Linked DNA regions of Homo sapiens: region 1 is linked to region 2. Evidence: promoter capture Hi-C in human tissues and cell types (Jung and others, 2019). All regions are on one chromosome and are shown on one strand. The core of a region is centred on a gene start or on the middle of the fragment in contact, and the rest is flanking DNA. Distances in the headings are between cores, read along the strand shown.

Region 1 (5,093 bases), core at 2,303-4,802, 530 kb after region 2:
ATTATACACTGAAAACCTGTATCAGTGTAAGGCATTATTATTACTCTGTTACTCAAGCGGAGGGATGTCCTGCAGGATGGAAAATTGAGGCAATTGAGGCAAATATTCAAAAAATATGTGTCAAATGACTTTGTTACACATTTCTTAAAAATCTGCAAAAATATGCAATATACTTACTGAGAATATTAATGTGAGGTTGGAGGCAGAATAACTCATAGAATTTTAGAAGGGGCGTTCATAACCATCTATGGAGGGTGGACTTGAGGATCTCATGGAAATCATGGCTCCTCTCAGAAAAGTGCACAAAACACAGATTTATGAAGTTACACAGAATTTTTATTTCTTTATTTAAAAAAAAATAGAGACAGGGTCCGAGAGGCTGAGGCAGGAGAATCGCTTGAACTTGGGAGTTGGAGGTTGCAGTGAGCCGAGATCGTGCTGCTGCACTCCAGCCTGGGTGAGAGAGTGAGACTCTGTCTCAAAACAACAACAACAACAACAACAACAAACAGAGACAGGGGCTTACTGCTGCCCAGGCTGGTCTTGTCACAAAATCCTGGCCTCAAGCAATCCTCCTGCCTCAGCCTTCCAAAGTGCTAGGATTACAGGTGCTCAGTCGGAATTTTTAAATATATATATTTAAATATATACACAAATATATATATATATTTGTGCATTGGAAATTAATTTCCTTCACACATTCAGAACATTTATAAAAACTTTACAAAGAACTGCCTCTCAGGCTGGGTGCAATGGCTCACACCTGAAATCCCAGCACTGTGGGAGGCTGAGGAGAGTGGATCACTTGAGCCCAGGAGTTTGAGACCAGTCTGAGCAACATGGAGAAAACCCATCTCCACTAAAATAAATACAAAAATGGCTAGGCACAGTGGCTCACGCCTGTAATCCCAGCACTTTGGGAGGTCGAGGCGGGCAGATCATGAGGTCAGGAGATCAAGACCATTCTGGCCAACATGGTGAAATCCCGTCTCTACTAAAAATACAAAAATTAGCTGGGTGTGGTGGCGTGTGCCTGTAATCCCAGCTATTTGGGAGGCTAAGGCATGAGAATTGCTTGAACCTAAGAGGCGGAGGTTGCAGTGAGCCAAGATCGCGCCACTGCACTCCAGCCTGGTGACAGAGTGAGACTCTGTCTAAAAAAAAAAAAAAAAAAAAAAATTAGCCAGGTGTGGTGGTGTGCTCCTATATTCCCAGCTACTCGGGAAGCTGAGGTGGGAAGATCACCTGAGCCTGGGGAGGTCGAGGATGCAGTGAACTGTGATCACACCAATGCCCTCTAGCGTGGGTGACAGAGTAAGATCCTGTCTCAAACAAACAAACCCCCCAAAAAAATGCATCTCCAAGTCTCTTTTTTTTTTGTTTTTGAGGCAAAAGTCAGTAGCCAATATTTGTAACCCCCAAACTTGAAACTATCCAAATGTTCAATAGAATGGAAATATACAAATTTAGGCATAGGCCGCTCTGCCTACAGAGTAGCTATGCTTTATTCTTTCACTTTCTTAATAAACTTGCTTTCACTAAAAAAAAAAAAAAAAAATTTAGGCATATCCACACAATGAAACCCTATGCAGCAGTAAGAATTAACACCATAAACACATGAGAAAATATAAATTTCACAAACATGTTGACTGAAAAACACAAAAGAATATATGCTCTATAATTCCACTTACTACAATAATCAAAATGAATCTATGGTATTAAAAGTCAGGATAGGCCGGGCGTGGTGGCTCACGCCTGTAATCCCAGCTCTTTGGGAGGCCGAACCAGGTAGATTACCTGAGGTCAGGAGTTTGAGACCAGCCTGGCCAACATGGTGAAACCCCGTCTCTACTAAAAATACAAAAATTAGCCAGACGTGGTGGTGGGTGCCTGTAATCTCGGCTACTCAGGAGGCTGAGGCAGGAGAATCACTTGAACCCGGGAGGCAGAGGTTGCAGTGAGCCGAGATTGCGCCACTGCACCCCAGCCTGGGCCACACACCCCACCCAGCCTGGGCGACAAGAGCAAAGCTCCGTCTATATAAAAAAACAACAGGATAACAATTATCCTTGGCAGAGTAAGTATTGACTAGAACGGGGCAGGATTCTGAGATGCATTGATTTCAGTTTGTGAAAACTAATTGAGCTGTAAAATTGTAATCTGTATACATTTGTGTTTTTGGTATGTATGTTATACTTTAATTAGAAAATCTTTTAAAAAGAATGGAGCTTTTCAGTTCCTGTAAACAGCATTAAAATAAATCCAAAGAATATAAAATAGAATAAAACTCTAATGCTGCTCAAAGTATATTACTAGGTTGGTGCAAAAGTAATTGCGGTTGTTGCCATTGAAAGTAATGGCAAAAAAAAAAAAAAAAAGTAGGTGCCATCTGGCTTTTAAAAATTTGTAATTGTGACACAGTGCGTCATATGGTATGTAGGGAGAACTCTAACCATGTTTTTCCTCACTCTCACAGCACAACAATCATCCATGCAGAAGATTTCTGTGACCAAACGTTGGAGGTGATTTCCCCATACACCAAGCAGTGGACACCAGCTGGGTGTCCTCTAATTCATTTCTGACACTGTCTACCCAGAGATGGCATCAGATCCCACACGTTGAGGGTTCAGTCCCCAAGACTGCCCACCCACCAAAACCGGTCACAAGTCTGGGCCTCTAGGACTGGCTTCAAGTTGGGGTTCCCATGACCCCCTCTTTGATTAATTTGGTGGAGTGGCTCACAGAGCTCAGGGAAACACATTTACCAGTTTGTTACAAAAAATATTACAAAGGATACAGATGGCTGGGCGCGGTGGCTCACACCTGTAATCCCAGCACTTTGGGAGGCTGAGGCGGATTACCTGAGGTCAGGAGTTCAAGACCAGCCTGGCCAACATGGCGAAACCCCGCCTCTACTAAAAATACAAAAATTAGCCGGGTGTAGTGGCCCACGCCTATAATCCCAGCTACTTGGGAGGCTGAGGCAGGAGAATTGCTTGAACCTGGGAGGCGGAGGTTGCAGTGAGCCAAGATCGCGCCACTGCACTCCAGCCTGGGTGACAGAGTGAGACTCTGTCTAAAAAAAAAAAAAATGAAAAATAAAAAATAAAAAAAATGCATGAAAAACATAAAAAAAGGAAACAGATGAAGAGACACGTGGGGTGAGGTATGGGGAATGCACACAGAGCTTCTAAGCCCTCCGTGGGGGGTGGGGGGTGTGGGGGGCGCCACCCTCCAGGAACCTCCCCGAGTTCAGGTATCGGGAACCTCCCTGAACCGTCCTCAAGGGTTTTTATGGAAGCTTCAGGACCTCCGCATTCTTTCCCCCAGGGTATAGAGGGAACCTCTCTGGGTAGGATCTTAAGACCCACAATCTGAAAGCCTGAGAAAGATTAGAGGCCTGTCTTGGGGCAGGTGAAAGGAGGGCAGGAGAAGGAGAGATTCTGTTTCCTGAGGCCTAACACATACCCAATATTACAACAAAAGAACTAACAACGGCTATAGCAGTTATGAGCCCGGAACTGTGGACGAAAACCAATGTCTATCATAACACCACATGTGGTATAGTAGACATCTGTTATTTTTGTCTGCCCTGTCTACATTCTCTCTTACCTGTTAAGAAGCCTCAAATTTCCTTGGGAAACCACTTGTATTAGTTTCCTATTGCTGCTGTAACAAATTAGCAACAACTCAGTGGCTTAGATAAAACACAAATTTATTCTTACAGTTCTGTAGTTTAGAAGTCTGACACAAGTTTCGCTGGGCTAAAAATCAAGGTATCGGCAGGCCTGTTTTCTTCTCTGGAGTTTCTAAAAGAAAATCCGCTTCCTTGCCTCTTCGCTGCTAGAAGCCACCTAGACTCGTCAGTCTGTGATCTCTCCCTCCATCTTCAATGCCAGCAATGTTGCATCTGCCTGACCATTCTCCTACTCCTATCTCTAACACACTTCTCTCTCACTCTTCCATTTTTAATGGCACTTGTGATTACATTGGGCCCACCCAAAATTCCAAGGTACTCTCCCCATTTTTTGCTTTGTCCTTTTTTTCTTCTAAATCTCCCTATTTTAATGTCAGCTGATTAGCACTCTTAATTCCCCTTTGCCATGTGACATGCCAAATTTACAGGTTCTGAAGGCCTGCCTGAAAGTGACACTAACAGAAGCAGCAAAGGGTGAAGAGAGAGACCAAATCTCATGACTTTGTTACAGCCCTTCGATTTGACTGTAGCGAAACCAGAAATGTCTCTGGGCTTTTCAGTTATATGAACCTTCTCCTCTTAAGTCAGTTTGAGTTGGGGTCCCCAAACTTGCAAATGAGAGTCTTGATTGTTATATATGACAGCATGTGTTATGTTTGATGTTGAATACATTTAAGTTATTTTTGTTTTATTTTAATGGCAATAAGTAATGATGAGTATGGGAATATCAAGAGACACATCAAACTTCAACTTCCAGTAATGGTAGAAAAGGTCATTGGGACCACTCTCCTATCAAAGAAAACTGAAAAAGTTGGAGATCGCACCACTGCACTCCAGCCTCGGTGACAGAGCGAGACTCTGACTCAGAAAAAAAAAAAAAAAAATCCATACTGAAGACACATCAAAATGACATTGCAGAGCCAGCCGGGCATGATACAATGGTCAGAGTTGGGGATCCTGACTTTGCTCAGCGGCAGTGGTACAGTTCAATGCAATGGTGGCAGGGCTATGCTTCCAGCAGAGCAGCAGTGGGGGTGGGCACTGGGAGCTTCCTGATCTTTGGGCAGCATCCTCTTCTCTTTGGCTCAACCAGCCTTCCTGACATTACTATAGTCAACCCCTTCCACCAAATCCCTTTTTGCTTAAAATATCTGGAGTTATTTCTGTTTTTTTTTTTTAAGTGAATGCTGACTGATTGGAATACTATAAAAAAGAAACATTACCAAAATAAGGAGTTAATTGGATATTAAAAACATGAAATCAGAAATAAAAAATTCAATTGAAAGGTTAGAAAAGAATGTTGATGAAATCACCCTGAAAGTAGGGAAAAACAAAATAAAAAAATAAAACAGGGGCGTGGTGGCGAGCATCTATAGTTCAAGATACTTGGGAGGGC
Region 2 (5,398 bases), core at 1,448-3,947:
TAGAATGTTTACCTACTTCAGTTCTATGTATAGGAGGTGTTTAGAACCCAAGTACTGTAATGTATTGTTATATCTCATCTTGTTAGAGTCCTCTTGTGGGATGCTGCAGACTCACAGTGACTATGATACTGCCTCCTAAGCAAGGACACACCCCAGTGATGAGAAATAGGCAAACCATGGTCTTGAAATGCCTAGGAGTATAGGCTGGGGTTTGGAGGGAAATAGTTGGATGACCTCAGGAAATAGAAAAAAACAGGCAGCTGCTTTTTGGAGAGAGTGGAGATGAGATCAGTGCCTACCTGGAACAAAACCCTCTGGCATTCTAGACTGGCTGAATATGTAGTGTAGGGACTTTATCATCTGTCAGAAAATCTCCTTTAAGAAGAAGCGATCAAGAAGTTTAGTCCTGGCCAGGTGTGGTGGCTCACGCCTGTAATCCCAACACTTTGGGAGGCCAAGGCAGGCGGATTACTTGAGGTCAGAAGTTCAAGACCAGCCTGGCCAATGTATGGTGAAACCCCGTCTCTACCAAAAATGTAAAAAATTAGCCAGGTGTGATGGCACACACCTGCAATCCCAGCTACTCAGGAGGCTGAGGCAGAAGAATCATTTGAACCTGGGATGCAGAGGTTGCAGTGAGCCGAGATCCTGCCACTGCACTCCAGCCTGGGTGACGGAGCGAGACTCCGTCTCAAAAAGAGTTCAGCCCCTATCCTGTACAGATGAGAAAATAGACCTGGAGGAAACCCAAGTCTATCAACAGCAGAGACCACAACCCATGTCAGTGCAAAGAAGCCAAGTGTTGCACTACCCTATTGGGATCCAGCTCACATTGAGCCAGTTTTGTTTTTTGAGCTGTTACGCAAGTGCCTTCTGTCGAAGAGAAGCTTTACTCAATTCTACAGGGCAGCCCCCTTCCTATTTTCAGTGGTAGAAAAGATGAGACCTGGGGATCCACACTTGAGGCTGTAGATTGGTGCTGGCAGCCCTGCTTCTGCAACTGAGTCTCAGCCCTAGTCTTGACCTTGTTCTTTTTCTCTAACAAGCCTTTTCTCTTTCTAACCCTCCCTCCCAATATACCCACTTCATACTATCCATTGTTCATACACTTCTCTACCTTTATTCCTCTTCTCATATTCCTCCCTTCGCCAGAGTGTCTTTTTCCACCATCTTCACCTGAGTTCAATTCATCCTTCAAGGTCCCGGCTCAAATTCCACCTTCACCAAAGAGCTTCCCAGTTTTCTCCAGTAAAAAATAGTTTCCCTCCCTTGTGTTCCCAAGGGGGAAGGGAGGAAAAAGGATAAACAAGCATTAAGCACTTGATCCATTTTAGGCACTTCGCATGTGTCACTTGTATGAGGTAGGTATTGCCATTTTACTTAATGATAAAAGAGTTGGAGAGGGTAAGCTGTCTGTAAAAGGTCAAGGTCATATAACTAGTAAGTGGTGGTGCTGGGGATTTGAACTCAGTCTAACTTCAGAATATAACTTTACAGCCTACCACATTTGGTCTCCTATTACATTTACTTTTGTCAGTTCACTCCTCTAGCATGCTGTTTTGCAAATAGCATTTTAGTTAAATGTTTGTGACATTGACTTCTCTTGCTTCCTTACTCTGTTTCTCCAGGATTTGTGGCAGGAGTCTCCCTGCCTTAATCATAAAGGAATTGAGTAAATTGGGGGTGGAGCTGGGCAGGTGGAGAGCCTGAAAGAGTGTGCCTCCTGACGTGTGGGCTCCCTGGAGATAAGTAAAGCCTGCCAGCCTGACAAGTCCATTGCCAGGGATATTGTAGACATTTCCAACGCTCTAGAAAGGATATTGCTCTATATTCACAGACTCTTAGAATGTTAGAGCTGGAAGGGGATTAAGAAATCACCTAGCTTACTGGTTTTCAAACATGCAGTTGTGGGCCCCGTTAAAAATGGGTCTTTTGAGAAGTATATACTTGGAAAAAAAAGTTGGAGAAGCAGCTGTAGTAATGCTGCCCCTCTCATCCCCACACACAAACATCTGAAAAATCCCTAGAACTGAGGAGCCGAGTTTGGAAAGTCAATAGTGTAACCTCCCTCATTTTACAGATGCAGAGCCTTAACATCAAGTCTAGTCATGACCAAGGCTGCACAGCCCGTTAGTTTGGGAGCCAATACCTAATGTCTTCTGAGGTTCTAATTCCAATGCTTTCTGTGGAAGAATCATACATACGCAGTATTTCTTAAGTGGCTGTTTGCGGCAAAGCACTGAAATAGTTGCTATGAGGACGACAAATATGAACGACCCCAGTTTTACCCACTCATGAGCTCACAGTTGAGGCCAGTGAAGAACCTAGAGACAAAACACGCACTTAACTATAACTTATAGTTCCCTAACTACGATTGCTGAGACAAGGATCGTAGTTATGGCCAGTTATGCGGGGAGGGTGGGCTGAACAATGAGACTACCGGATTGAGAGAGGCCCGGGTCTCGCGCGGAGAGAAGGGGCAGGAGGAGGCAGAGGGTCGAACTTAGGTGAGAAATATGGCTGGCGGGCCCCACACCAGGGTCCGGCACAGTCCAGCTGGAAAAGGGGTCTCTCACAGAGTGGGTGGCCGAGTTAGGCCGCTCTCCACGGGTATTCATGGCTCGGTCCACCCCCATTCCTGTCCTGGCTGCGTAATCCGAAGGACGCTGGGAGGAAGGGGCGGGACTTGTGGCGGAAGTTCCTAGGCCAGCCTGTCACGTGGGAGGGAGGCTCGGCGCTCAGGTGAGTGGCGGGTGATCTGCGGTCTCTGGCTTAAAGCGTCGCAAGCCATGAGTGCCCACAAGGTGTGTGGTCATCCTATATCCGGGCAGTGACGGGCCCTATTTTCGGTTTGGAGCTGGACTCAGGAAGGTTACAAACTGGTTCCAACCAAGTCTGAATCTGGAGACGGACCAAGCTATCTTTTGAGGCACCCAAGCTCTGGGTAGAAGCCAGAGCAAAGCTGTCCTCATGAGTGTCTCCGTCGGGAACGGAGGCTTCCAGGTGGTCTGGCTTCAGGAATGAGGTTGGGGTGGCTGGTGGCTGCTACCAGGAGTCCATAGCTTCCCACAGCCTTTCTCTCTTCCCCAATTGTCTAAGGCGACTCCTGCGACAGGAAGCTGTCTGGGAAGCATCCTTCATGTGGCCTCTGCCCCTTTAAGTCACATTGGAAGTGGGAAGGGGAAGGGAGTGGGCACAAGGGAATGTCAGGCGGCTTCTTAGTCGTGGAGAGGGACGGTGGGGGTGACCCCCTCTCCTCTTGGCTTGACAGGAAGCATGGCACTCTGGCGGGCATACCAGCGGGCCCTGGCCGCTCACCCGTGGAAAGTACAGGTCCTGACAGCTGGTGAGTGTCCCTCTAGGACTTGAGTGGGACCAGGGCAGACTGATTTGGAAGCCAGAGGCTTGCCCCACTGCACCACCCTCACTTCCTGTTTCTATTCGGCTCTCTTGAAGGGTTGGCTGTCTTTCATCCTACACTGTCCCCAGTCTGTTTTGGAGGGTGGTCCCCAAGGCTGTTTTTAAGGGGTATGCGTAGTTGGCCAAGCTGTGCAGTAGGGTTTTAGGATTTCAAAGTCCTCAAAAAGCTGAACAGTCAGCCCTGAAGGATAAAGGCATTGCCCCAGGAGGCCTCAACTTGGAAAACATTTTACCGTATGCAAAGCACTTTCATATACGTTATGGCATAGGGCCCCCACAAAGGTGTGTGAGCTAGGAGGGTTACTTGAGTCCACATTAGATCACACCTAATAAGTGCTGAATCAAGACTCTTACCCCAGTTTTTCTTGGTATTTTTTATTGTGAAACATACAAAAGAATGATTAAGATGTGTATGTACAGTTTAAATGGCATTAAAACTGAACACTCCTGTGTCAGTAATCAGCTTTGAGACCTCTTGAGTGCCTCTCCGTAATTCACCCAAAATTTCCTGAGTTTTGTTTATATCGTTCATTTGCTTTTGTTATCATTTACTGCCTAAATATGTATCTCCAAGGTTAGTATATTGGTATCTGATCACTCCATCCTGATCCATTTGGAGTGATCAGATACCAGTCACTCCAAATGCAGTGATTGAGTACTAACCTCACAGAGGTAATGCAGTGACCTACCTGCATTTGTTACCATCTTCATTTTGCAAGTTAGCTAATGTAAGAGGATGGCATGAAGATAAGTAAGTCTTAGAGGGGGAATGTCAGAAGGCCTTAGAACATTGGGGTGCAAAGAGTGATCACATTAAGATGAGGTCTTGCCCATGTTTAGAGAAGGGGAACAGGATTCTAGTGATGACTGGCCTTCTGAGAAGAGGACTATTGGAAGGGATTGGGGGCTACTGAAGGCCAGAGTGGAACAGGGATCCTGTGACCAGAACAGCCCTGCATCGGCACAGAAACTTAACTGCATGAATGGCCAGGAGATGGATTCTTTGGCCCTTCCCTGGGCCCCTCTCCAGTCTCCGGTGCCCAACCACCTCTTGTCCTGTCCTCAGCGTCCGTCAGCCTGTATGACTCACCTGGCTACGTGTGTGGTGACTCATGCTGGACAGTGTGGCTATGATGGGAACTGACACGCTGGGCCCTTTGCCCAGGCTCAGATTCCCTCAGGGCCCATAACTGCCAGATGGAAGATTCCCCCTTGTGGTCATCAAGAATAGGGAGGGAAAGAGTCCTTATATTTCCCTACCTGAGGCATCTGCAGCTGACAAGGGCAGGAGCTAGAGCTCCAAGGAGGCCTAGGTGCCGACATGTGGCTGGAGTTCTGGGCTCTTGGTGCTGGAGCCCTTCAGCTCCACAGCCTCAGTCTTCCTGAGGCTATGCTGACGTCCCAGCTCAGCCCTGAAGCAAAATGTAGCCTCCCAGCACTTTTCCCAGACTTTTTCAGACCATCCAGACTTTTCCTTTCCTGCTGTTCACTGTATTTGGATCAAACTACAAATAAAAGGTGGAAGTGGCTTTAGTTCACTGAGCCATTTTTGGACCCCAGCACAGTAGTTCCTAAGGTCCCATGGGATAGCTCATCACACTGGAAAACAGTACAGAGATTTCAGACTTAGAAGACCAGGATTTGAATCTTAAAACCATAGCACCTAGTAGGTGCATTAATCAGGACAAGTCAGTAAGCTTCTTTGAGCCTTAGTTTCCTCTTTTAAAACTTGAGTTTAGGGACTGGGCGCGGTGGCTCACACCTGTAATCCCAGCACTTTGGGACGCCGAGGTGGGCAGATCACGAGGTCAGGAGATCGAGACCAACCTGGCTAACACGGTGAAACCCCGTCTCTACTAAAAATACAAAATTAGCCGGGTATGGTGGCGCATGCCTGTAATCCCAGCTACTTGGGAGGCTGAGGCAGGAGAATCACTTGAACCCATGAGGCAGAGGTTGCGGTGAGCCAAGATTGTGC

The links. Contacts are between HindIII fragments. The study calls those that stand out against the background at their distance.
Region 1: a fragment that was not itself captured here is called in contact with the fragment with the promoter of MPV17 in region 2 in 1 of the 25 tissues and cell types used here (hippocampus).

Annotation. Positions count from the first base shown.
Region 1 is chr2:26,796,289-26,801,381 of GRCh38, reverse strand. No RefSeq gene overlaps it. Among named protein-coding and RNA genes, the nearest start is that of CENPA, 13 kb to the right of the region's middle. The HindIII fragment of the contact is 9,087 bases long and covers 1-5,093 here.
Region 2 is chr2:27,320,396-27,325,793 of GRCh38, reverse strand. MPV17 (mitochondrial inner membrane protein MPV17) reads left to right here and starts at 2,697. Exons shown (of 8, transcript NM_002437.5): 1 at 2,697-2,742; 2 at 3,272-3,346. The coding sequence starts at 3,277. RefSeq lists enhancers at 1,888-2,860, 2,983-3,042, 3,093-3,142, 3,153-3,242, 3,253-3,302 and 3 more. The HindIII fragment of the contact is 20,851 bases long and covers 1-3,002 here.